7 separate regions of the Homo sapiens genome follow, and regions 1, 2, 3, 4, 5 and 7 are each linked to region 6. Evidence: promoter capture Hi-C in 16 types of primary human blood cells and fetal thymus (Javierre and others, 2016). All regions are on one chromosome and are shown on one strand. Each heading gives the region's core, a stretch centred on a gene start or on the middle of the fragment in contact. The rest is flanking DNA. Distances are from core to core; before and after follow the strand shown.

Evidence for each region. Contacts are between HindIII fragments. The CHiCAGO score rates a contact against its expected background, and 5 or more counts as called.
Region 1: a contact is called between a fragment that was not itself captured here and the fragment with the promoter of SC5D in region 6, in 10 of 17 cell types (neutrophils, non-activated CD4 T cells, activated CD4 T cells and 7 more). The highest score is 14.6, in neutrophils.
Region 2: a fragment that was not itself captured here is called in contact with the fragment with the promoter of SC5D in region 6 in 1 of 17 cell types (neutrophils); the score reaches 7.6 in neutrophils.
Region 3: a fragment that was not itself captured here is called in contact with the fragment with the promoter of SC5D in region 6 in 1 of 17 cell types (neutrophils); the score reaches 12.0 in neutrophils.
Region 4: a fragment that was not itself captured here is called in contact with the fragment with the promoter of SC5D in region 6 in 10 of 17 cell types (non-activated CD4 T cells, neutrophils, naive CD4 T cells and 7 more); the score reaches 21.3 in non-activated CD4 T cells.
Region 5: a fragment that was not itself captured here is called in contact with the fragment with the promoter of SC5D in region 6 in 4 of 17 cell types (neutrophils, total CD4 T cells, total CD8 T cells and 1 more); the score reaches 17.6 in neutrophils.
Region 7: a fragment that was not itself captured here is called in contact with the fragment with the promoter of SC5D in region 6 in 14 of 17 cell types (non-activated CD4 T cells, total CD4 T cells, naive CD4 T cells and 11 more); the score reaches 30.4 in non-activated CD4 T cells.

The regions. Positions count from the first base shown.
Region 1 is chr11:121,577,800-121,581,400 of GRCh38, forward strand. All of the region lies in intron 25 of SORL1 (sortilin related receptor 1), which reads left to right. Among named protein-coding and RNA genes, the nearest start is that of SORL1-AS1, 130 kb to the left of the region's middle. The HindIII fragment of the contact is 1,985 bases long and covers 1,338-3,322 here.
Region 2 is chr11:121,684,450-121,687,728 of GRCh38, forward strand. No RefSeq gene overlaps it. Among named protein-coding and RNA genes, the nearest start is that of SORL1-AS1, 230 kb to the left of the region's middle. The HindIII fragment of the contact is 4,552 bases long and covers 1-3,279 here.
Region 3 is chr11:121,664,529-121,667,806 of GRCh38, forward strand. No RefSeq gene overlaps it. Among named protein-coding and RNA genes, the nearest start is that of SORL1-AS1, 210 kb to the left of the region's middle. The HindIII fragment of the contact is 3,229 bases long and covers 1-3,210 here.
Region 4 is chr11:121,622,822-121,626,170 of GRCh38, forward strand. It overlaps SORL1 (sortilin related receptor 1), which reads left to right. Exons shown (of 48, transcript NM_003105.6): 46 at 2,264-2,456. Among named protein-coding and RNA genes, the nearest start is that of SORL1-AS1, 170 kb to the left of the region's middle. The HindIII fragment of the contact is 2,624 bases long and covers 289-2,912 here.
Region 5 is chr11:121,641,536-121,644,747 of GRCh38, forward strand. No RefSeq gene overlaps it. Among named protein-coding and RNA genes, the nearest start is that of SORL1-AS1, 190 kb to the left of the region's middle. RefSeq lists an enhancer at 2,593-3,212. The HindIII fragment of the contact is 5,004 bases long and covers 1-3,212 here.
Region 6 is chr11:121,291,380-121,294,876 of GRCh38, forward strand. It overlaps SC5D (sterol-C5-desaturase), which reads left to right and starts at 1,392. Exons shown (of 5, transcript NM_006918.5): 1 at 1,392-1,437. RefSeq lists an enhancer at 1,134-1,183 and a silencer at 1,354-1,403. The HindIII fragment of the contact is 7,130 bases long and covers 258-3,497 here.
Region 7 is chr11:121,602,231-121,605,511 of GRCh38, forward strand. It overlaps SORL1 (sortilin related receptor 1), which reads left to right. Exons shown (of 48, transcript NM_003105.6): 33 at 1,963-2,094; 34 at 2,883-3,009; 35 at 3,172-3,281. Among named protein-coding and RNA genes, the nearest start is that of SORL1-AS1, 150 kb to the left of the region's middle. The HindIII fragment of the contact is 3,015 bases long and covers 455-3,281 here.

The DNA of each region.
Region 1 (3,601 bases), core at 1,080-3,579, 290 kb after region 6:
TGTACCCGTTTTGGGTAAGATTTTATTAAAAGTAAAGATGGAAACAACATGAATGTGCTAGGTGCTATAAGGTAGGGGTAGTGTTCTCATTCTTTTGTTGGGTTCGCTTATGTTCATTACATTATTTTTATGAATGAGTGGATGAATGGTGGCCAGATATATTATGATGGGGCAGGGCAGACTGGGGGTGATAGGCAGTGGGTAGTGCAAGGAGTTGAGAAGCTTGTGGAGAAATGAAAACAAATTCCATTTTATAATCATCACTTTGTACCCCATTGTAATTTGTCCAAAAAACAAAAATTAAGGAATTTTTGTTCCAGATTTTATTACTCATTGAGTAAATTTGCTCTACAGCCTCCTTGAGAAGCTGTTATTCAGTTCTGTCTTGAACCCCTCTAGTGATTTTGGACTAGGGAGATAAAGATGTTTCCTTTAAACATTTCATGGTAAGGACAGATCTGTTTTTACACTCGGATAATTCAGACTTCATTGTGTAATTCATTGTTGAGTCATCTTCTCAATTATCTGAAGCCAGCTATTAATCTTGTGAATTATTGGACTTTTAAATCTCATGTCTTAACCTCCTCTGCCCCCAGAGTATCCCAGCACTTCCTACACTGCCCGGCATCTGGCGGCTCAAAGCACGCCTACTAATTGGTAAAAGGAAATACAAAGAAGGTACATCTGTTATATCTCAGACCTAAGGATAAATAACTGTGCATTATGCTCTGGCTTAGACTTGCTTCCCCACGGAGAGAGATGACCTCTTCTTTTACTCTTTTGTATTCTCTGCAGTGTCCAGCACATAATAGAGTATGTGCTCAGAGAACCTTTGTGGATTGAGTAATTTTATGCAACTGCTTCCCTCCATTCCTTTTAGTTTGGAGGTGACCTCATATGGCCTTAAGGGAGTGAATAGATCTCTTCAAATGCCATATACATCACATGGGATATTCTGTGGTGTTACCAAATCCTGTTCGCTTGTAAAGTCCACCCATGTTCTTTCTGGCGCAGCCTCTGTGTCTGCACCTCTGCTTCTGAAAAGACTGCAGGAAAATGCTTCTCTCTGTATATTAAAGCATGGTCTGCAGAAGGAGGAAGAACCGAGGCCCATAAAGGAGCTGCCGTTGGCACAGGAAACACGTGAATGCTGTTTGGAAGCTTTGGGTTTGGATGGATACTTAGTTAATAGATTAGAAGGGTGCACTTGGACATTGCAGTTTGTAAATTGCAGTATGATTGAACATCTTGTTAACACAACTGCCTTACTCAAATTTGCATTTCAGCAGCATGTGCCGGTCTTACAGAATGAATTGATTACTTCATTTCTATAGGCAAGCTTGTATAAACTCCTGGTTTTTTCTCTGATTTTCTTCCGGCAAGGCAAACTGGAGAAAACTTAAGAGTCCTTGCTGCTCAGCTGCAGCCTTGTTCCAAGGGCTGTTCTTCCAAACCTTTCAAGGATGATCCACCTTCTCTGTCATCTCAAAATAGTTGGAGGTCAGATGTGAGCTCATGGTGATGTGTGGCATGACACCTCATTTTCAGACCTACTAAATTAAGCTGCGTACAGTGCCAAAAGAAATAGGTCAAGGTAGCTGACCTCCTGTTGGCATCAGCTTGGATGCGCACTCTGCTGTGCGTCCTCTTTGCTTTTCTTTTCGCCACTTTTACTTTCCACGAGGCTGTTTCTTTATTCACCTCAACCCACCGCTATTGTTTTTAAACGTGTACATCTGATTTCTGTGTGTTTTTTTAGGACAATTACCTGTAGACATTTTATTTGTATTCTTAACATCTTTCCTCTCTCCTAGATATATGGGGACTTTAGAATTTGATCCAAATCTCTGCCTACAGTTCCAGTACTAAAATACCTAGTATTTTAAACACTAAATATTTAGTATTTTAGTTTTATATTAAAAAATCCTAAACTTCACTGTTACTCTTTTTAAATAACCACACTTCTGCATAGGCACACAGGTATTACCAACTACCTCTGTGTCTTGTTGCTAATGCCTCCCACCAATGTACATCCTTCAGGGGTTTTGCAGCAGGAGTCTATGAGTGGCAAACTCTTTCAAGGTTTTGTTATTATAGACATATATTTAATCCTCAATCTTGAATTCAAATGGGTCTGGGTTTCTAGGCTTTTAGTAATTTTCCGTATTTTCATAGAATTCTTCCATTTCTTCCTGGCCTCTTTTGTGTTGATTTGAATTCTGCTCTTAGTTGTCTGTTCAAATAATAACAGACACTCTTTTCTTTCTAATTACCTTTAGGTTATATTGCTCTTAGTTTTACCTACCTAGGTGTGGAATTATTTTTACTTATCCTGCTTGAGACTTTGTTTGTTTTAAGATCTGAGAATTTTTCGAAAGACAACTCTGGGAAGTTACAGCTACTAACTCTTCAACTATACCTGTTGGCTACTTTCTCTGGTCTTGTCTTCAGCAGTTACTCTAAGCCATTCGTTGGACTGCCTCATTCTGTTGTTCTCTTCCCTCCTGTTTTTATATTTGCTGTCTCTTTATGACTCTGTGCTAGAATCTGAGCGACTTCTCTAGATTTATCTTCCAGTTCAACAATTCTCTTTTCAGCTAACTCTAATCTGCTGTTTCACATATACATGGAGCTGTTTTTTTTATTTCCATGAGTATACGTTTTGTATCTAGAATTTCTGTTTGGTTCTTTTTCAAATCTGCCTTTTATTTTTCAGTGTTCTTTTTTTAATACTTTATGTTTTTTCTTCTCTGTCATTAATCATTCAAATTGTGATGATAGTCATTTTTTTCCTCATGCACTTACTTTTTTTTTTTTTTTTTTGAGACAGGGTTTTGTCTTGTCTCCCAGGCTGGAGGGTAGTGGCGCGATGACAGCTCACTGTAGCCTTGACCTCCTGGGCTCAATCCATCTTCCCGCCTTAGCCTCTTGAGTAGCTGGGGCTACAGACATGTGCCATCATGCCTGGCTAATTTTTGTATGTTTTGTAGAGATGGGGTTTTGCCATATTGCCCAGGCTGGTCTCGAACTCCTGGGTGCAAGTGATCCTCTTACCTTGTCCTCTCAAAGTGCTGGGATTACAGGTATGAGCTACTGCACCTGGTCCCCTTCTCATACACTTTTTTTTTTTTTTTTGAGACGGGGTCTCTGTCGCCCAGGCTAGAGTACAGTGGTGCGATCTTGGCTTACTGCATCCTCTGTCTCCCAGGTTCAAGCAATTCTCCTGCCTCAGCCTCACGAGTAGCTGGGACTACAGATGTGTGCCAGCAGGCCTGGCTAGTTTTGTGTTTTTAGTAGAGATGAGTTTTTACCATGTTGGCCAAGCTTGTCTCTAACTCCTGATCTCAAAGTGATCCACCCTCCTCGGCCTCCCAAAGTGCTGGGATTACAGGTATGAGCTACCACGCCTCATGCGTTTCTTTATAGTCTAGCGCTTTGTAAGAAATAAGGCAGTACTTTCCCTGTTATACTACTTATTTCATCCATTCTACTCTGCTCATGTTTGGTTAATGCTTTTAATCAGGCATTCCAGCAGGTCTTGATGAATCAGGAAAGTTCTGCCTGAGTCAAAGATTAAGTTGTAGGATATTGACCTATATTA
Region 2 (3,279 bases), core at 162-2,661, 390 kb after region 6:
TTCTTAGTGACCAGGGAAATTCCATTTGGATTTTAAAAATTAATTGTAGATAATAGACTTTGTGAATCCAGTGGCAAATGAATAATTAAGGTTTGGCTGTGATTTGCCCTCATATGGCATTCATCAATTTCAAGTTACTTTATGTTAAAATTTGTCATAAATTAATTTTGGGGAGTGAAATATGATTACATTTCAAAACTTTTGAAAGATAAAGGAGAAAAAAATCCCTCTGTAAACTTATCACAGTCCTTACAAAATTTTTAACTCAATTCAAGTTACTCTAATATTATATTATTGATACAATAAATTATATTGATAGGTTGCTAGGTAGAAAATAGGTTACTGTCTTCTTTTTGCAGATGGTGAAACTGAGGCTCAGGGATTCAAGAAAGTTGTGCAATTTGACATCAGAAATCAGGGTGAAGACACATGAGGAAGGTGGGTGTCTTGATAGTTTCTCCCAGCATGGTGCCCACAGGTTATGTTAGAACACTTACCTCCCAGAATCACTGGTTTGAGCTTTCATGACTGATAGGAATTAAAATTCAAGGGTTTACCAAGAAATTGCGTTGCCTTATTTTCATTGCGTGTTTAGTTGCCTTCTAGTATTATGTCAAAGTTTCTTAACATCAATAGAAAGAGAAGAATTTGCAAAAACCAAATGACTACGGCATTCAGTTGCATCCTTATAAGGGACCTGGATTCAGCTAGATCGTTGAGGCTTTGTTAGACCTTAAGCAGCATTGACAGTTTAAATTCGAGATTTCAACCCTTCCATAAGGCTGTTAAACTAGCCAGAAAATCTGGAGCATTTGAGAAATTCCACAGATTGAGGGGACACAAATGGACTGAAAGGAACCCAATTCTGGAGCTCAGGACCCAGGTGGAGGTGGAAGCAGGAGAGCAGTACCAGGGGTGCCAAGGCTCTGAGCTCCTCACATGACAGGGCTCCTTGAGCTCAGCTCTGTCCATTCCCACAATGCACCTGGTCCTTCCCATAGAATGGATCTTAGTATTTTGAGTGAGAGTCAGGAGAATATTATACTAGAGTCATCTTGCTGTCCTGTGTGGAATACACTGGGTTGCCCATTTAGTGAGTGTTTAAGTGCCTGTAGCATGCACACAATGTGCAGAGGGTTCAGAAACAGATTCAGAGAACATCAGAGGTGGAAGGCATCCTTACGCACTTTGTAGAGACGTCATGGGACTTGGAGCACTTCTGGGATTTGCTCAAGTCTTCTAACTAACCAGCCCAGTGCCATTTGAATAATCCCAGGTGTCCTATTTCAGTAGATTTTGATTTGCCCCACCTTTGTCCAAGTTTACAGTTTTCTGTTTATAATCATCGAGCAGGGCCCCAGGTTTCCTGTCTACAAAGGGGATAGAAGTGGAGTAAACTCCAGACAAAAAGGCCGTTTCCTACCCACTTGGACCTTCTGATGCCCTCCAAATCTATTTTTACACTTTTATATTATAACTTTTGTTTTCCAGTGGTTTCTTCTGCATCCCTATAGCCTTCTTGCCAGGAATCGAGTCCCAAGGATTCTTTTTTCAATTTCTTTTTTTAAAAAATGATTTCAACTTCTATTTTAGATTCAGAGGGTACATGTGCAGGCTTGCTACATGAGTATATTGTGTGATGCTGAGGTTTGGGGAACGATTGATCCTATCACTCAGGTAATGAGCATGGTAGCCAATAGTTGGTTTTTCAACCCTCCCCATCTCCTTCCACCCTCTAATAGTCCCCAGTGTATATTGTTGCCATCTTTATGTCCATGAGTACCTGTGTTTAGCTCCCACTTATAACTAAGAACATGTACTATCTGGTTTTCTTTTCCTGTGTTAATTTGCTTAGGATAATGGCCTCCAGCTGCATTCATGCTGCTGCAGAGGACATGATTTCATTCTTGTTTTTTTTCTTTTTTCTTCGAGATGGAGTTTCGCTCTTGTTGCCGGATCGGAGTGTAATGGCGCTATCTTGGCTCACTGCAACCTCCACCTCCCAGGTTTAAGCGATTCTCCTGCCTCAACCTCCCAAGTAGATGGGATTACAGTTACCTGCCACCACGCCCAGATAATTTTTTGTATTTTTAGTACAGACGGGGTTTCACTATGTTGGCCAGTCTGGTCTCGAACTCCTGACCTCAGGCGATCCACCCCGCTCAGCCTCCCAAAGTGCTGAGATTACAGGCATGAGCCACCATGCCTGGCCAATTTCATTCTTTTTTATGGCCACATAGTATTCTGTAGTGTATATGTCCCACATTTTCTTTATCCAGTCCACTGTAGATGGGAACTTAGGTTGATTCCATGTCTTTGCTATTGTGAATAGCACACAATAAACATGGGAGTGCCAATGTCCTTCTGGAAAGAACAAGTTATTTTCCTTTGGGTATATACCCAGTAATGGGATTGCTAGGTTGAATGGTCATTCTGTTCTAAGTTCTTTGAGAAACCTCCAAACTGCTTTCCACAGTTGCTGAACTAATTTACATTCCTACCAATAGTGTCTAAGTATTCTCTTTTCTCCACAGCCTCACTAGCATCTGTTGTTTTTTGACTTTTTAATAATAGCCATTCTGACTGGTGTGAGATGGTATCACCTTGTGGTTTTGTTTTGTATTTCTCTGATGATTAGTGATGTTGAGAACTTTTATATAAACTTGTTTGTTGCTCATATGTCTTCTTTTGAGAAGTGTCTGTTCATGTCTTTTGTCCACTTTTTAATGGGGCTCTTTGTTTTTTGCTTGCTGAGTTGTTTAATTTCCTTATGGATTCTGGACATTAGACCTTTGTAGGATGCATAGTAGTGGATATTTTCTCTCATTCTGTAGGTTGTTTGTTTACTCTGTTGATAGTTTCTTTTGCTGTGCAGAAGCTCTTCAGTTTAATTAGCTCTCACTTGTCAATTTTACTTTCTGTTGCAATTGCTTCTGAGGACTTAGTCGTAAATTATTTCCCAAAACTGATGTCCAGAATGGTGTTTCCTAGGTTTTCTTCCAGGAGTCTTATAGTTTCAGGTCTTACATTTAAATCTTTGATTCATCTTGAGTTATTTTTTGCATACGGTAAAAGGTAGGGGTCCAGTTTCATTCTTCTGCATATGGCTAGCCAGCTATCCCAGCCCATTTATTGAATAGTCAGTCTTTTCCCCACTGCTTATTTTTGTTGACTTTGCCGAAGATCAGATAGCTGTAAGCGTGTGGCTTTATTTCTGGGTTCTTTATTCTGTTCCATTGGTCTAGGTATCCTTTTTCTTACCAGTACTATGCTGTTTTG
Region 3 (3,278 bases), core at 346-2,845, 370 kb after region 6:
GTATCCAAACATAGATGTCAGAGAGAAGTTGGATGTAGGGAACTGAGCTCAGAAGAGAACTGGGCTGGAACTATAAATTTGAAAATTGTCAGCACATAGATGGTCCTTAAAGTCACTGTGTTGGATGTCACTCAGGGGAAGAGAGGACCAGGGAATAAGCCACAGGACTTTCTGAGACATGAAGGAACAAGATCCAGCAAAGCAGGCTGAGACGGAGGCGTCACTAAGTTAGGAGGAAAACCAGGTGACTGTGCTATCCTTGAAGCCCAGAGCAGACAGTGTTAAGGGAGCACTGGTCAGCCATGTAAAGTTTCACTCCTAGAAACGATGTCACCTTCATGCACATATTTACTTGTCTGTCTCACTGACTAGACCCATTTTCCAAGTCCAGCTCAAGTTCAGACTGTACAGGAATCACATTTATCTTAGAATCGGCAGGGCACAGCACAAAGCCGGGCACATAATTGGTGCTTGCTCATTGTCTAATGAATTGAAAGAAGGAAAGAAAAAGAAAGAAAGAAAGAAAGAAGGAAGGAAGGAAGGAAGGAAGGAAGGAAGGAATCTCAAAGGCCAAGCAGGAGAATAAAATACCCTTAAAGCTGAGGCTTCGGGGGCTGAGATAGCATTGTTTTAGCATGCTTTCGGAACAGTGTAGGAGCTGGTATGGTATAATGTGTCTCCATGTAGCAGGAGGCAGGACAGTCGCACTGCTGTGTCAAAGAGCTGGAGCCCTTGGTAGGACACGTACCCAACAATGTCATTTGTGCACAAGGGAACTTGGCTGGGGAGCAACTGCACTTCCACCTCCACCATCTGCTTAGTTAATTCCCAGCCCGCTGGCTCCAGTGTCTCTTACCTCTTAATTACCAGCCTTGGCTCCCACCTGGCTCAAGAGACCAGCTTTGCTTCCCTGTTGCATTTTAAGCAGTGACCTGACAAAGCCTATCTTTCCTGGCTGAGATTTCCTTTGGTCGCCTTCAGCCAGCCCTTTCCTTTTGGGATATCCTGCCTTACCCATGTAGTGGTTCAGAGCAGCCTGACATCCAGGTGGCCCTGGCAGCTCTGAGCTAGTTCTGTCCACTCAGGGGCAATGCCCCACAGGGCAAACTGGCATTTAGAGCCTTTGAGAGTAACTGGCACAGGATAAAACCAATTAAGAGGGCAGTTCAGAGATGCTGGGACCCGTGGCATAGTCTATCATTGGTGGACTTTCCAAGTCAGGGTGACGGTAATTACCTGAATCCCTGGATGCTCTCTTTGTACAATGTTCTGACATCCTGGAAAAGAGCCTACCTCAGTCAGTTCATCTCAGCCCAGATAGTGCCTATTCTTGAACTCTCCCTGCTCTAAAAGAATTTCAGTGTTTTTCCTTTTTGAGGGTGGGTGACCTTGGATTGACGGCATCTTGGTTCAGAGCATGACCTCAGAATGGAGAGCTTTCTCCAGCTGAACTGACGAAATTTGCCTCCTCTTAACCCTCTTAGCTTTTTTCTTAAACTCCAGTCAGTAGAGAAACTCCAAAATTTACCCTTCTTCTGAATTGAGTTGCTTTTATTCTATAGATATTTTAATCTTTCCCTCTGTGTCAACTTTGATGACCCTGACAGTGAAGGTGAGCATGATACCGAGATTTCTGAGTGTCGTCTTCTCATCAGGTGCTCAGATAAGAGCTCCTATGCTAGGTCCTTTGGACAACAGAGAAAACCAATGAAGGGTGTGCATTCTAGGTAAATAGTCAAAATAAGATGCTTGAAGGTGGATTGGATTATATAAACTATCTCATATGCCCCAGATGCTTGTGACAGCCACCAACAGGTAAGTGCATGTGAGCATTCTAGGGGACAGGGGATTTTATTTAAAAGCCCAAAGGAAAATGTTCATGTCTTTTTATTTCCAAGAACTTCCCATTGTATCTTATTTAATCTTTACTAGAATAATCCTACAGGGAAAGGAAGGAGAGTGGAATAGCTTGCTCCTCCTCACCTTTTACCTTTTTATAGATGGCAACTGAGATGTAGAAGGAATGAGCTATCCATTAGGTAGATCTGGGACTTGAACCTGGGTCTTCAGATTCCCACCACAGGGAGAAGTTCTTTGAGGGTGGGAGGCATCATATGTATTACCTGGCTCATCCATCTTGGATGAAGATGGTAGAAAGCTGCACTGTGAACAGGGCTTCAACTCGATATCCACCCATCTGGTGGATATCAGAATCTCCAGAGTGGGCAAAGGAGGAAAAAAAAAATCTAGTGTTTTTCAGAAAAATATATTCATTATACATTCCTGCTTAGAAAATGAATGTTTATAATATAAACTATCTAGCAAAATTCTAGCAAAATCTTGACTAATATGGTATGGGTAAAAAAAAATACTGAAAACCAGTTTGATCTTTTTTGTCCTCTATGTCCACCAAAGAGTTGTCGTCTCTGGAGCTGGAACAGCTACCTCACTGCATGGCCATCATCCCACTATACCCTGATAGAGTGTGGAGCCAGAAGTAGCTCCAGAGGAATCAGCTATCATCAGAGCCTTTACTACCAATTTGTAGTCTCAGTTGGAGTTGACTTCTGGTGAACTGGTGGACTGAGGCTGACCCATTAATCAACAGGTCTTACTAAGCACATGTCCAGTACTATGCTAGGTGCTTTGGACAACAGAGAAAACCCACGAAGGGTGTGCATTCTAGGTAAGGAGTCAAAACAAAATGCTTAAAGTTGGACTGAACTACCTAAACGATTAGACAGGTTCATAAAAAAGAGTAATTCTGGGCCAAGCATGGTGGCTCATGCCATGCACTTTGATAGGCCGAGGCGGGCAGATTGACTGAGATCAGGAGTTTGAGACCAGTCTGGCCAACACGATGAAAACCCGTCTCTACTAAAAATGCAAAAAAATTAGCCGGATGTGGTGGCGTGCACCTGTAATCTCAGCTACTCAGGAGGCTGAGACAGGGGAATTGTTTGAACCAGGGAGGTGGAGGTTGCAGTGAGCTGAGATTGTGCCACTGCACTCCAGCCTGGGTGACAGAGCAAGACTCCATCTCAAAAAAAAAAAAAAAAAAGGTAGTTCTGTATATGATGTATTTGGCATTTGAATATTAAATACTTGCTATGTGCTAAATTTCCTATATCAGGTGTCGAAAATGTAGGGTGTCAAAATAGGCAGGATAAGCTAAGCTGTGCTGAAGTAACAGCAGTCCCCAGATTTTAAAGCTTTAACACAACAAAGGGTTAATTTTGCTCAGATAATACATCCAACAAGGGTGTAAGGAATTGTCT
Region 4 (3,349 bases), core at 351-2,850, 330 kb after region 6:
AGTGAGACCTGGGAGTAGATTTACCACCCAAGGGTGGACAGATTCTTGAGTAAAGCTGGGTTGGCCCCAGAGACAGCAAAGCCTTTGCTAAATAGGAATGTGATGAATCAACTATGGCTACCTGGAGATGCAGCATAGGCAAAGAGCCATGGGTTCTAAATAGTCACCGTGCAATACCAAAGCAAAGTGAAATTAAAATTGGAAAATTCTCACCACACACTCTGTGAGAATTCTCATAACTCTTGTAACTATGACATCTAAATGGCTAATATCCTTAAATAGAAGGAAAGCTTTCAAGTAAGTTCAAAATGGAAATATTCTAATTTTGAAGAAGGGACATGTAACAAAGCGGAAAATTCCAGCAGCAGTAAGCAAAAGGAGAAAAGTTCAACCTCACCGGTAATCTAAATAACAAAGAGGTAACCCTCTCATGTTAAATTGGTAAAGATTTGCAGGGAAGAGTATAACTGGTATGAATAGTAGTTGGGGAAGTAAACGTTCTGGGAATATGAATTGGTTCAAACTCAAGTAAGGTTCTTGGGTAATACCTATCAAAAACGTTGAAAGTGTTCACACCCATTGATCCAGCAGTTGTAGGATTTTACTCTAAAGCAGCAACGTGCATGAAGAATTTGTGTGTAGTATTTATGACAGCAAGAAAGAGGAAACAGCCGAGATGCCGAACAGAAGAGGATGGGTTAAATAACGTATGGGTGGTTGATGTTGTGTAATCTCAATTATTTTCTTTATAACCTTTGTGTATTTTACAAATGATCGACACCAGATATCTATTAGGTGGAAGGTAATAACTGCTGGCTTATAGGAAAGAATGCGGGGATGAGATTCCAGGCAGGTATTGGGAATCCCAGTTCGGCAGCCAGTCGCCATTAGGGGATCCTTCCTGGGTGGCTGGAGCCCGGCTCTTAGGTTAAGATTCTAGGTTAGTATTTCGTTCCTAGTGGAGGGTCTGGCATAGGCATAGCATGTCCTTCTTCCCTTCCCCTGACAAGGAGTTCAAAGAATTGTATTAGTCCGTTTCCACAGTGCCAATAAAGACATACCCAAGCCTGGGTAATTTATAAAGGAAGGAGGTTTAATTGACTCACAGTTCCACATGGCTGCGGAGGCCTCTCCATCATGGTGGAAGGCAAAGAGGAGCAAAGCCACATCTTACATGGCGGCAGACAAAGAGAGAATGAGAGCCAAGTGAAAGGGGAAACTTCTTATAAAACCATCAGATCTTGTGAGACTATTCACTACCATGAGAACAGTATAGGGGAAGCCGCACCCATGATCCAGTGATCTCTCACCGGGTCCCTCCCACAGCACAGGAGAATTATAGGAGCTAGAATTCAAGATGAGATTTGGGTGGGGACACAGCCAAACCACATCAAGAATAGATGGGTCAGTGGTATTGGGATCAAGAGACTGTGATTATGCAAGGGGGCCCAATATGTGGCTAGAGAAAAGTGATGGAGTCTTTTCAGGGGGATGGTGGAGAGTGTCAGTAGCTTTGACACTGGAATAGTTGGGGATCAGCAGAGAAGTCAGGTTGTCAGCCCTCATCCCAGCTAGTATCCTGGGCCAGGGCTGTCCCCAGGATGGCTTTTTCCAGCACCAGAGTCCAGGGCTGTAACTAGGAAGACATTTCATCCTCTCCTCCAGTGAACAGGGGCCTGAGCTGGCTTCAGTGCTTCTGATTTCAAGGCCAGGTTGTTGGGGGGCTGAGATCGGCTCAGAAGGAGCTAGAGAGCAGGGAGACAGGAAGTGAGCCGACAAGGTCATTCCTACATATTGTTCTGGGGACAAATGTCTTGTCTTTTCTAATTGCAAGTTCTCCTTTCTCACCCCATTGCTGGAGTCCACTGCGACCTGGATTTATTATTAGTCAAATTCCATTATGGCAAACTGTTCAGATTCTTGGTGGCATTTAATATTGCTTGAGACAGGCAGACTGCTGAGCAAATCTCTGAGTGTGGCTTTGGTAAAATGACTTTCCTGAGGGCCACAGTTTTCATTTCCACGATATAGCTTGTTGTGGGGGGGTGGTGTGGCAGTTATTTGAGATATTGGAGATGAGAAAAATTTTCATTTTCTGAATCCAGTATCTCAGTGGTAATGTAAAAAGAACAAGGAGAAACCCAGGGCGCTTTCGCGTCTGTAGCAGCCCACAGTGAGGAGCTCACATAAAGATGGAACCAGTAATAGAGGCTGTCAGTTTCCATATTCGACTTCCTGAGCAATCTCTTGTGTTTGTTTTCAGGGCTATGAGATACACATGTTTGATAGTGCCATGAATATCACAGCTTACCTTGGGAATACTACTGACAATTTCTTTAAAATTTCCAACCTGAAGATGGGTCATAATTACACGTTCACCGTCCAAGCAAGATGCCTTTTTGGCAACCAGATCTGTGGGGAGCCTGCCATCCTGCTGTACGATGAGCTGGGGTCTGGTGAGTTGCGATTGCTGCCCGTTTCTGTCTTCAGTTCTAGGGAAATAGCAAGAATGTCATATGGTTTCATGACCATGTGTCTTTCTAAAACACATGGAAGATATTCTCAGCTTAAAAGAAAATCATTTATATATCAGTTTGGTCAGGTAGTGATGTATTTAACAAATACTTCCTGAGCTGAACATGGTACAGGAAGCTGAGATTACAGGGGGACCGGATTCTGAACATAAAGTGCAAGAAAGGCAAGGCTTTGTTTAAAAAGGGAAACTCTAGGTTCACAAGAGTTTCATTTGTTTTTTGTGGGACTTCTCAGCACCTCTAACATGCTAATATATCCTGTGGATCTCCAAGCCAGTAGATCATCTCCTTGTCATGGATTTTACATGTAAAATCATATAACTGATTTTACAGTGCACACCTCTGCCCCGCCCCGGCTTCATCTTAGCTCTCAGCATAAGCTTAGGACTGGAATTTGTCCTGGGATCTCTGTCTTATGTCTTATGCTGGGCCATGCTAGTGATGGAAGAGAGGACCCTTCCGTTCATACAGAAAGTCTGCTTACATTATAGTAGTTTGGCCAGGATTTCAACAAATGTTTTGCCACTGGTCTTTTTTAGTTCCATTTACTCTCAGCCAAGAACTAACCAGTGCTCAAGCCAAAATCTTGTGTTAGAGTTGTTAAATGTTCCGTCTCATAGTGTTTCTCAGGGTGAGATCTTGTGCAATATTTATCCTTGGCACCCCCCACTAAGAGAGGGAAACACTGCCTGCCACTTCCCTTGGGAGAATCTTAACATATTAGAGGTTCTAAGAAGGTCCTACAAAAACCAGCCCAACTCTTGTTGACCTAGTATTTCCTCAACAGAGCCCCATTTTTAGGCAAAACTAATTGG
Region 5 (3,212 bases), core at 257-2,756, 350 kb after region 6:
CTCTGCTCTTATTGTACACCTTGAAGGTGAAGTTAATTAAGTCCTGTTGTGGGGTTTGAGGGCCAGAATTTAATTTTTGGAGCTTTCTTTCATGTTGGGAGCAGATTGGGTAATAAAATAAAATGTATATTGAGAATAAGACGGCCTTCTGACCTTTCAGGGTCTAGGGCTGTAAAGCGTCTCAGGGTTGCTGCCGAACGAGCCATGAACTGGGCTGGGTTTTTCATATTTGATGAAAAAGAGCCTAAACGCTAACTGATTTGGGAAAGGTCAGATAAAGAAAAAGGAGCATTAACCTTGACTATGCCTTTAGATCCAGCCACCTTTTTAGGAGGAAATTGCTGGGCAGGTGGGGGAAGGCTAGTCGCAGAACGAAACTGTAAGCTGGACCGGGTGTGAGGAGGGGAGGTGATAAAAGGATTATAGGGTGGGGGAGCAGAGACTGAGCAGAGACTGAGGAAGAATTGGGACCTGGCTCGGCCTGGCGAGGAGGGGAGAGGTCAGATGGGTCTGTAGAAAAGGAAGATTAGGAAGACTCAGTGACGCTTGGGGTTGGGACTGAGGGGACAGGTGGGAGGGAAAGGAGGAGGATCTGGGACGAGTTGCATTGGGAACAGAGACTATGGAGGGAACAATGTATAAAAGAATGCCTGGACGTCAGGCACCTCAGACCATTTGCCCATTTTACGACAAGAATTATTTAGATCTTGTAGGATGGAAAAATTGAAAGTGCCATTTTCTGGCTATTTGGAACCACTGTTGAGTTTATATTGGGGTCAAGCGGCATTGCAGAAGAAGATAAGGTTTTAAGGCCAGGTGTGAGTTGAAGAGGTTTTAAGTTCTTGAGAACACAGGCTAAGGGAGAAGGAGGAATGGAGGGTGGAAGGTTGCCTATAGTGAAGGAGGCAAGCCCAGAGAAAAGAGAGAATAGAGACACGGAGGGAAAGGGTTCAGGGGTTCTTACCTTCCAGGAAAGCGGGAAAGGGGTTGGGGCGTGGAAATGAGGGGTTGGGGCACAGAGATAAGAGGTTGGGCCACAGAGAGAGGTCGGGGCATGGAAATAAGGGATTGGGGCACAGAGATACGAGGTTGGGGTACTTGCCCCTCCCCCAGAAAAGCGGGACTTGCCGCTAAGGGTGAAGGACCAAGGCAGGCGTCCCTGCCTGGTCTGACACCTCTGAAACGTGGGTGAATAAAAATCAGAGAGGTGTCCCTGCAATGATTAAACACCAAGGGAAGGCTGCCTTCCCAGTCCGTGACCGGCGCCGGAGTTTTGGGTCCACGGATAAAAGATGTCCCCTTTGTCTCTACCAGAAAATGAAAGGAATTGAAATTAAGAGAAGGGAGAGATTGAAGAGTGGAAAGGAGAAAGTGGTTGAGGGATAGTGAGAGAGGTTGGAGAAGAGAGTAAGAAGAGGCCGCTTACCTGATTTAAAATTGGTGAGGTGTTCGTTGGACTGGTGGGTCTGAGGACCCGAGTTTGTAGGTGGATCTTTTTCATGGAGCAAAGAGCAGGAGGACAGGGGATTGATCTCCCAAGGGAGGTCCCCCGATCCGAGTCACAGCACCAAATTTCACTCACGTCTGTGTGAAGAGACCACCAAACAGGCTTTGTGTGAGCAACAAGGCTGTTTATTTCACCTGGGTGCAGTTGGGCTGAGTGCAAAAAGAGAGTCAGTGAAGGGAGATAAGGGTGGGGCCGTTTTATAGGATTTGGGTAGATAAAGGAAAATTACAGTCAAAGGGGGGTTGTTCTCTGGTGGGCAGGAGTGGGGGTGGCAAGGTGCTCAGTGGGGGAGCTTTTTGAGCCAGGATGAGCCAGGAAAAGGACTTTTACAAGGTAATGTCATCAGTTAAGGCAAGGACTGGCCATTTTCACTTCTTTTGTGGTGGAATGTCATCAGTTAAGGCGGGGCAGGGCATTTTCACTTCTTTTGTGATTCTTCAGTTACTTCAGGCCATCTGGGTGTATATGTGCAAGTCATTGGGGATGCGATGGCTTAGCTTGAGCTCGGAGGCCTGACAATTTGTATCCATTGTAGACATTTTTGGAAACTAAAAGCAGCCAGAAGGAAATAAGATTTCCAGGTAATCCCAGAGATAATGGCTGTTAACATTTGGTATGTGTCCTTTTATTGCTTTGTTCTGTATGAGTGATGGCATCTGTTACAGTTCTGCTGTGACAATGACTAAGTCCGTGTGTGGGAGTGTTCCAGACCTCTGTCACTTCTCTTAGGTCTTAGTTCCAACTGTAAAGACAAATCTGAATTCAGATAGAAGCTGAGTGTTCCAGACCTCTGTCACTTCTCTTAGGTCTTAGTTCCAACTATAAAGACAAATCTGAATTCAGATAGAAGCCGAGCAGGATCTTCTTCCCCCTTTGTCCCTGTGAGCAGTTTTAATACAGACTTACTCGGAAGACCAGTGGCACCAGGGGGTTGTTGCTGCACCGCCAGCTGTGTGTCTCCCTCTCTTATCATTACAATCAAGTGCTTTGAGTCATCTTTCACATTAATGGAGCTCCCAGGAGGATTCATTCCCGTCACCTCGTTATCTCTGGCTCACCAGGTTTTTACTATTCAGTGTTTTGCTGCTCACAAGATTGGGGGAATAGCTATCAACACATCCCATCAACGAAAGTAGAGAACAGAAGTAGACATGAGACAGCATAACATAGGCACATAAACAGAAGATGGGTCGCAAACATGTTTGTCACATTAAGCACGTTTAGGGCAAAAGGAACCTGACTTGCAAACAAGGAGGTGTTGACTCTGCGGAGAAGTGGATGGTCTACAGTCTGCTAAAAGCTCAGTGGTGGGACTGGTTTGCCGGTTTCTGTGATGGGGAGGGAGGAAGAGAAAGAGATGAAAGGAGCTTTGGAGGTATTTAGTGTTGGGTGGTGAATACTTTCTTCATTTCAACTCAGAATGGGAATGTGTTAGATGGGCAAGATGGTTTTCCTTAGTATTAAATTGCAGCACAAGAATATTATAGAGATTATGATGCCAGTCAGGAGAACAGCATGAACCCAGGAGGCGGAGCTTGCAGTGAGCTGAGATCACACCACTGCACTCCAGAGCCTGGGCAACAGAGCAAGACTCAGTCTCAAAAAATAAAAAAAATAAAAAAAATAAAGACAAAGAGATTATGATGCCAGAGCTAGAGGATGTAAAATTCCGATTCTATGTGAATAGATGCTGAGCCTTCTATTG
Region 6 (3,497 bases), core at 142-2,641:
TTGATGTTTGCTTATAACATTTCACTTTTGAGCTTTTATTCGTTTAATAAATGTTTTATCATCTATGCTCAATAACATTTTAAAGTGTCCATTCAAATCATTTCATTGGGCAAAACAATGTTCCTTCCCTAATTTCCCTCATCAGAATAGCCATTTTGTCTCTGTGCTCAGCCTATACCACCAATTACTGTTTATTTCCTGTCCTTGTAATAAGCAACATAGTTATTTATACATGCCCATTTCTCCCACAGCACATAAGCTTTTTAAGGTTGGGAACCATGTCTTTGTCATTATTGTAACATCTCTTTCCATTCCCGGTGTTCAGTACGATGTGTTAAACGAAGTAGACACTCAAAACTTTTTAAAATTTATTTTTATTTATATAATGAGTCTTTTTTAAAAAAACCACCTACACTATTTTAAATTCATTTGAACTTTGTCCAGTATCCTATGTACATTTGAAGTTTAACTACCGGAAAAGTCTTTTGAAGGCAGATCGAATCATGTTATTTTTTTCCCTTAAAAATCCCTCATTTCTGTCATGTATTCCCCATATTATTTATGTAATAGGTAAAGTGGCCCAGTTTGCCACTTTGAAGTTGCTGAGCTGGTATCACAAGTCAGTCCCCTCTGTTTTAATCTCTGTTTAAGGAAAGTCACTCTGAAACGACAGATCTTTTGGTTCCTTATTTCTGCTTTCCTCCGTCCTCTTCTGCCTGTGAAGCCACCCTCCTCTGCTCAGCTCTGTTTCAGGAAATCGGAGCTGCTCGATTCATGTGTAGCAAATCAAAGCCAATTAGATCTGCGTTAACCTTGGTTTTCAACAACTTGTATCGTGAAAAGGTTTCTGTCCATGTTTACCCTCATCTTGTCACCATTTAGACCCCTACATACACCGGCTCGCGGAGCCTCCAGCCATTCAGCGCTAGAAAATCGGGGGGACTACGTCTTAAAACCTTGAGCACCTGTTTGGGAACATCTGCACCTCCTCCCTTGAGGGAGAAAACGACCCAGACATTCGCGTCAAAGGAAGTGTCGTCTATTTCCCTCAACGCAGGGCACCCGTTCTAGGAATGTTTGTATAAACACCGTAAACCTGCCTGGTACCACCATGAATGACACAAGAGCTAGTTTAAAAAGAAAGCAAAGAAACAAACGCAAAACCCGAAACCGCATCCTCCACCGCAAAGGTACTCGGATGGGGCGCCCGCCCTCCCCTTAGTCAGAGGACAAAGGGGGCGTGGCCGAGCGCGCGGCGCCCACGTGACCGCGGAGAGCTGCGCGCAGGCCCTTCGCGCGATCTGCCGTCATATCAGCTTATGGCGCCGGTCGCTGATTGGCTGGCCGCTCCAGCCTCCCGGCCCGCTTGCTGGCTGCCCAGCTGCTAGGACAGTTTGCAGAGCAGTGGCGTGCGGAGCGGCGGCGGACCACCTCCAGGTGGGGACGGTGGGTGGGCGGGGAAGGAAGCGGAATACACCTGAGCGGGCTGGGCCGGGGGGCGATGGAATAAAAGAAGATGGAGAGACTTCAGCGCCTGGGACTCGGGTGGGCGAGGCGGAAGGTGTCCTCGCAGCACGGCTTTTCTCCGCGCCGCGGTTGGTTAGCGAGTGCCCTCTGGGTGCTAGGCGTTGGGCGGATGGTAGGATCGCGGTAGCATACGGATCCGAGTCCTGCGCCGAGTGAGAGGAGAGGCTGGCAGGTAGCCTGGCATCCCGAAGACTGGCGGCGAGGGCTGGGCCGGGGGACCTCGGGGCCTGGAGGGCTGCGCCACCTGGGAGTCCGGGCGGAGGGGCCTTCCGCTCGCGCTGGGAGGGATCGCGGGGCCGATAGGGAGGCCTGGACTTGAAGGAGCCGACCGTGGACGGGCTTAAAGAAAATGCAGTGTTTGATGTTGGGTGTTGCAGATCTCTTACTCAAGGGAATTCTGGTCTGGCTGCTGAACACGAATGCTTTACTTTTCCCTTCGTTCTGGGAGGGTTTTTTTCTTTTAAAGGCCAGAAGAATCAGGCTGAAGAACTGGTCGGTATCAGAACTCCTGACCATTGCAAGCCTCTGTTGCTGCGGCGTAATTAGAATGAAGGGACAGCAATCTGGGGCTGAGGAGACTGAAAGGAAAAGGGAAATAATCTGTTCCTTTTGCATCATAAAAGGAAAAATAATGTATACTGACATCCCTGTGTTACAGCAGAGTAGATTTGGAGGTGGTGTAAGTGAAGAAAACAAGACCTCAGTACATAGAGTTTCCAAACTGGAAAGTTTGTGGCAGCTCGGTACTTTTAGAGGAAACCCTCTGGAAGTTATTTGTCTTTATATCACTATCATTTTTTAAAGTTTCTAATGATTGATACCTAGTAAATAATAACTGATCCTTGATCATTTACAGAGTGCTTTTCCATTCGTTATGTAATGTAATTAATTAGCATGGGGTGGTACTCAGAATCCCTCATCTGCATATAAAACATCTTGAGAGATAACATAACGTGGTAGCAAAGAGAAAGGTTGTGGAATGTACATCCCAGCTGGTTTTTTCTGTTATTGTTGCTTGCTACTGAACAAGTTATTTAAATACTCTGACCTCAGTTTCCCTATCTATAAAGTGGGGAGCATAGAAGTACCTATCTCATAGAGGTATAGGGATTAGATGAGGTTATACAAAAATAATACCTGGTTCTCAATAAATATTAGCTATCATTTTCTATACTTTTAAAGTAGGGCAAAAAGATAATGGTAGACTGAGTTGTTCTAAGCCTAATATTGTTATTATAACTGAGTTTTAAGAAGAAGTTTCTTTAATTCTGCAAGGACAAAGTATTTAAGTTTCTGTTTGAAGCAGTGGTACTTAATTTAGGGTCCTTGGGACCCCTAACTTCAGGGCTTATAACCCCTTAAAATTATATGAGCTTGTAGAGGCACTGAACATTTTTAAAAATTCAGGAGTTGACGACTTGAAGTAGTGGTGAAGAGGCTATAGAACTTGGCAGAAGTTCACGTACTTTGCAACTAGATTGTGTGTATTTGAATCCTAGCTCCAGCATTTATTTACTCTTATGACCCTATGCAAGTTACTTAAAATTTCTGTGCCCAGCTTCTTCATCTATAAAATAATACTAGTACCTACCTTTGAGGCTTCTTGAAAGGGAAAATTAGTTAATATATTTAAAATATTTATATTACCTAGTATATATTAAATATTACTATCAACTACTGTCAGTTATTTTTCAAACAAAAATCAAGTGGCACCTATTTTATCTTCTATTGAAGTAATTTTGACGCATTTTTGACGGCCTTAACAGTGATAATCATATAGATGCTATTTTATTGAGTACCTTTCTTGGGTCAAATGTCAAAAGTCTACTTAGTCTCTAAACCTCACAGCAATCAAACATGTTTGTGTTCTTTTTGGTTGCACGATACTATTCTAGGTATTGTATTGAAGTAGGGCCACATGGCACTGTGGGGAACATGTAGATTGGCTCATCAGCTGTTACCAACCTTTA
Region 7 (3,281 bases), core at 712-3,211, 310 kb after region 6:
TGCAATGATCTTCCTGGAGAATGGGGGATTATAGTTTGTGAAAAGCCTCATAAGTGGTTTTGATAGTTCCCTTCTATTGACAATTTTTTATCAGGATTGTTTTTGAATAAGTAGTGAACTGAAGTCTGTACCTCCATCCTAGAGACTCGTGCAAAGAAGTCTTAATTCTTCTTTCTCATGAAAACTCATCAGTGGAGAACACTTGTCAGAGTGGTCTGCATGTCTTCTCACCACCTCCCCCATCCTTGTATCTTTTCACCTCTAGGAAAATATCCCTGGATCCTTTATCCATTCCTCTTGACCATCCTGGTTGCTCTCATGGGAACATTATCCAGTTTCTCTACCTATATCTCAAAGTGTGGTTGTTTATGTTAGGAGGAAGGAGAAGAGGGAGGGGGTCGAGGTCAAGAGGTGACCCATGACCACATGCCTGGGTCTGAAGTGGGGCGTATGAAGCTTCCTTGCTCAGGTCACAATGCTCATATCACCTTTAACATAACTTTGTTACTTGTGTGTACACTCTCTTTATTTCCTCAGGGCTTAGTTTCAGGAAGGGACTATTATCATCCTTGCTTTAAAATTAAACTATAAACAAAATTCCTTCCATAGTTAGCTTGGCCTACGTGCAGAGATAGGCAGAGGCCGTTAACCTACAAGATGTCACCATGGGCAGGGGGCAGGGTGCGGGGAGCAGAATGGAGCCACTCATGTTCAGCCTCCTTTTGTCTGTTATAATTTCCCCATTTTCAAAGCCAGTGATGTTGCATGTCTCTCACCTGTCTTCTGTATTCTCTCTGTCTCTCACCACAACCAGAAAAGGGTCTCTGCTTTTAAGGACCCATGTCATTAGACAGAGCCCACCTGGATAATCCAGGCTGAACTCTCCTACCTATGGGTCCTTAATCTAATCACACCTGCAAAGTTGCTTTGTTACATAAGGTAACATATTACAGGTTCCAGGGATTAGGATGTGGACGTCTTTGACTTGGAGGAGCAAGATTGATTTTAGACCCTCATCACTGGTGGGATTGGATTTCTGATGTAGCCCTTCCTTGTCCAGGACTGGGCAGGCAGGTGTGAATCTGTATAAGGAAGGCCTCAAGTTACTGTTCCTGGGCTCAACCAGCTACATAGCAGATTTGTACCACCCAGGTACACAGCCTGCATAGCAGATTTGCTGTCTACAGCCATTCTCACCTTTTCTCTTTTCAGGAGCATTTGCAATTATACGGTCATTGCTTTCTTTTTGGAGCCTCCCGTGCAGTTTTAATCTACTTTCAGAACTGGAGAGCACATCACATTTTGGTCAATAGCCTAGACATACAGTTGCATAACCCTTAACTTACCAGTGCTCATTATTTGCATTATTTCATTTTCTGTTCAAGTACTTTGAAAAGCCAAACAACTTTAAATACTACATAAAGTATGCATGCCTCTTAATATTGTTGGGATTCATCTCATTGTTATTTCTGTTACTCAAACCAGAAATCAGCTCCTCTTTCTAGATTGCAAACTAATAATAGTAGCAGAATAATTAATAGTACTATAGAGTAATAGCTACAGTTTGTTGATGCCGGCCAGGAGCCAGGCAGTGTTCCAGGTGTGTGATCTCATTAGATCCTTGCAGACATGATAGTGATGGAATTGTTACTTCCATTTTTTATAGGGCAACTGAACTCAGGTGATATTAAGCTGTTTGCTCAAGCTCATGCAGATCTAGGATTTAAACTCTAGTTTGTTTGACTCCAAAGTGCTCACTCTTCCCGAATGCAGATTCCAGTTGTTAATGTTAGATGAGATGGCACCTTAGTGCCGGTATAGATTCCACCACTGGTCATTCCAGAGGTGTGTTTTGAAGCAGAAGCCAATTAGTACTTTGCCTAAATGGGAATAAACTTGGGCCCAGCCTTTAGTACCATACGGCCCCTCCCCGTGGACTTAAGAAGCCTCTCTGTGTTTCAGCCACACACAGCACCTTGACTTGCATGAGCAGGGAGTTCCAGTGCGAGGACGGGGAGGCCTGCATTGTGCTCTCGGAGCGCTGCGACGGCTTCCTGGACTGCTCGGACGAGAGCGATGAAAAGGCCTGCAGTGGTGAGTGCCGGTCCACGGGCTGGGCTGGGCTGGGCTGGGCTGGGAGGCTCGCTTACCCCAGGGCCCCTCCTGTGTAGACCTTGAGCTAGGACCCTTTTGAACTGTTGCTCAATCTAAGGATAAAACAGATTTGTGCCTAGTTTTGGAGCCCCAAGTGAGGTGAGCCTTGGCCAGACTCTGATACAACATGCAGCTGTCTCCTCCCTGTTAGTGAAATGCTAGTCTTGGATTTTTTTTTTTTTATGGACTTCCCACCTCATGCCCATACACCATGGCTCTCACAGTCTCAATCTGCTGGTGGGATTAACTCAGTTCTTATCTCTGGAGTGTCTAGTAATGGACCCTATGACATGGTCCTTGGACTTGTAGCATTCTCTATGGAGAAATAGGCTTAAATTGTCATAGGCAGGAGGAAGATGAAATTCGAGGGAAAATATCACGACCGGAAAAGTAGGAGACCCTAGGAGGGATTGTATAGGGAGGTTTCAACTACATTTTCTGAGATTTCTTTTCAGATAATGATTATGGCCTCCTGATAATCTAGATCATGGTAGTTCTGTTTAAAAGCAGGAGTCCTTTGAAATCTAAGGATTTGTAAGATGTAACTTTTTTTTTTTTGTATTTTTAGTAGAGACGGGGTTTAGCCACATTGCCCAGGCCAGTCTCGAACTCCTGAGCTCAGGCAATTTGCCCGCCTCGGCCTCCCAAAGTGCTAGGATTACAGGCGTGAGCCACCACGCCCAGCCAAGATGTAACTTTGTTTGTCTTTTTCTCCTTTATCTCTCTAGATGAGTTGACTGTGTACAAAGTACAGAATCTTCAGTGGACAGCTGACTTCTCTGGGGATGTGACTTTGACCTGGATGAGGCCCAAAAAAATGCCCTCTGCTTCTTGTGTATATAATGTCTACTACAGGTAGGTCCCATCTTTGTCATGGGAGATGAAAATGATGTCTTCATTGCCCCAGGATGTTCTGTAAACTCTCTAGTGGCATGCACCATGCTATTAACGGAGTCAGACATCTCAGCCCCCCATGCTGCTCCAGTGTGACAATATCTTTATTTTTTTTTGGGCCAGGGTGGTTGGAGAGAGCATATGGAAGACTCTGGAGACCCACAGCAATAAGACAAACACTGTATTAAAAGTCTTGAAACCAGATACCACGTATCAGGTTAAAGTACAGGTTC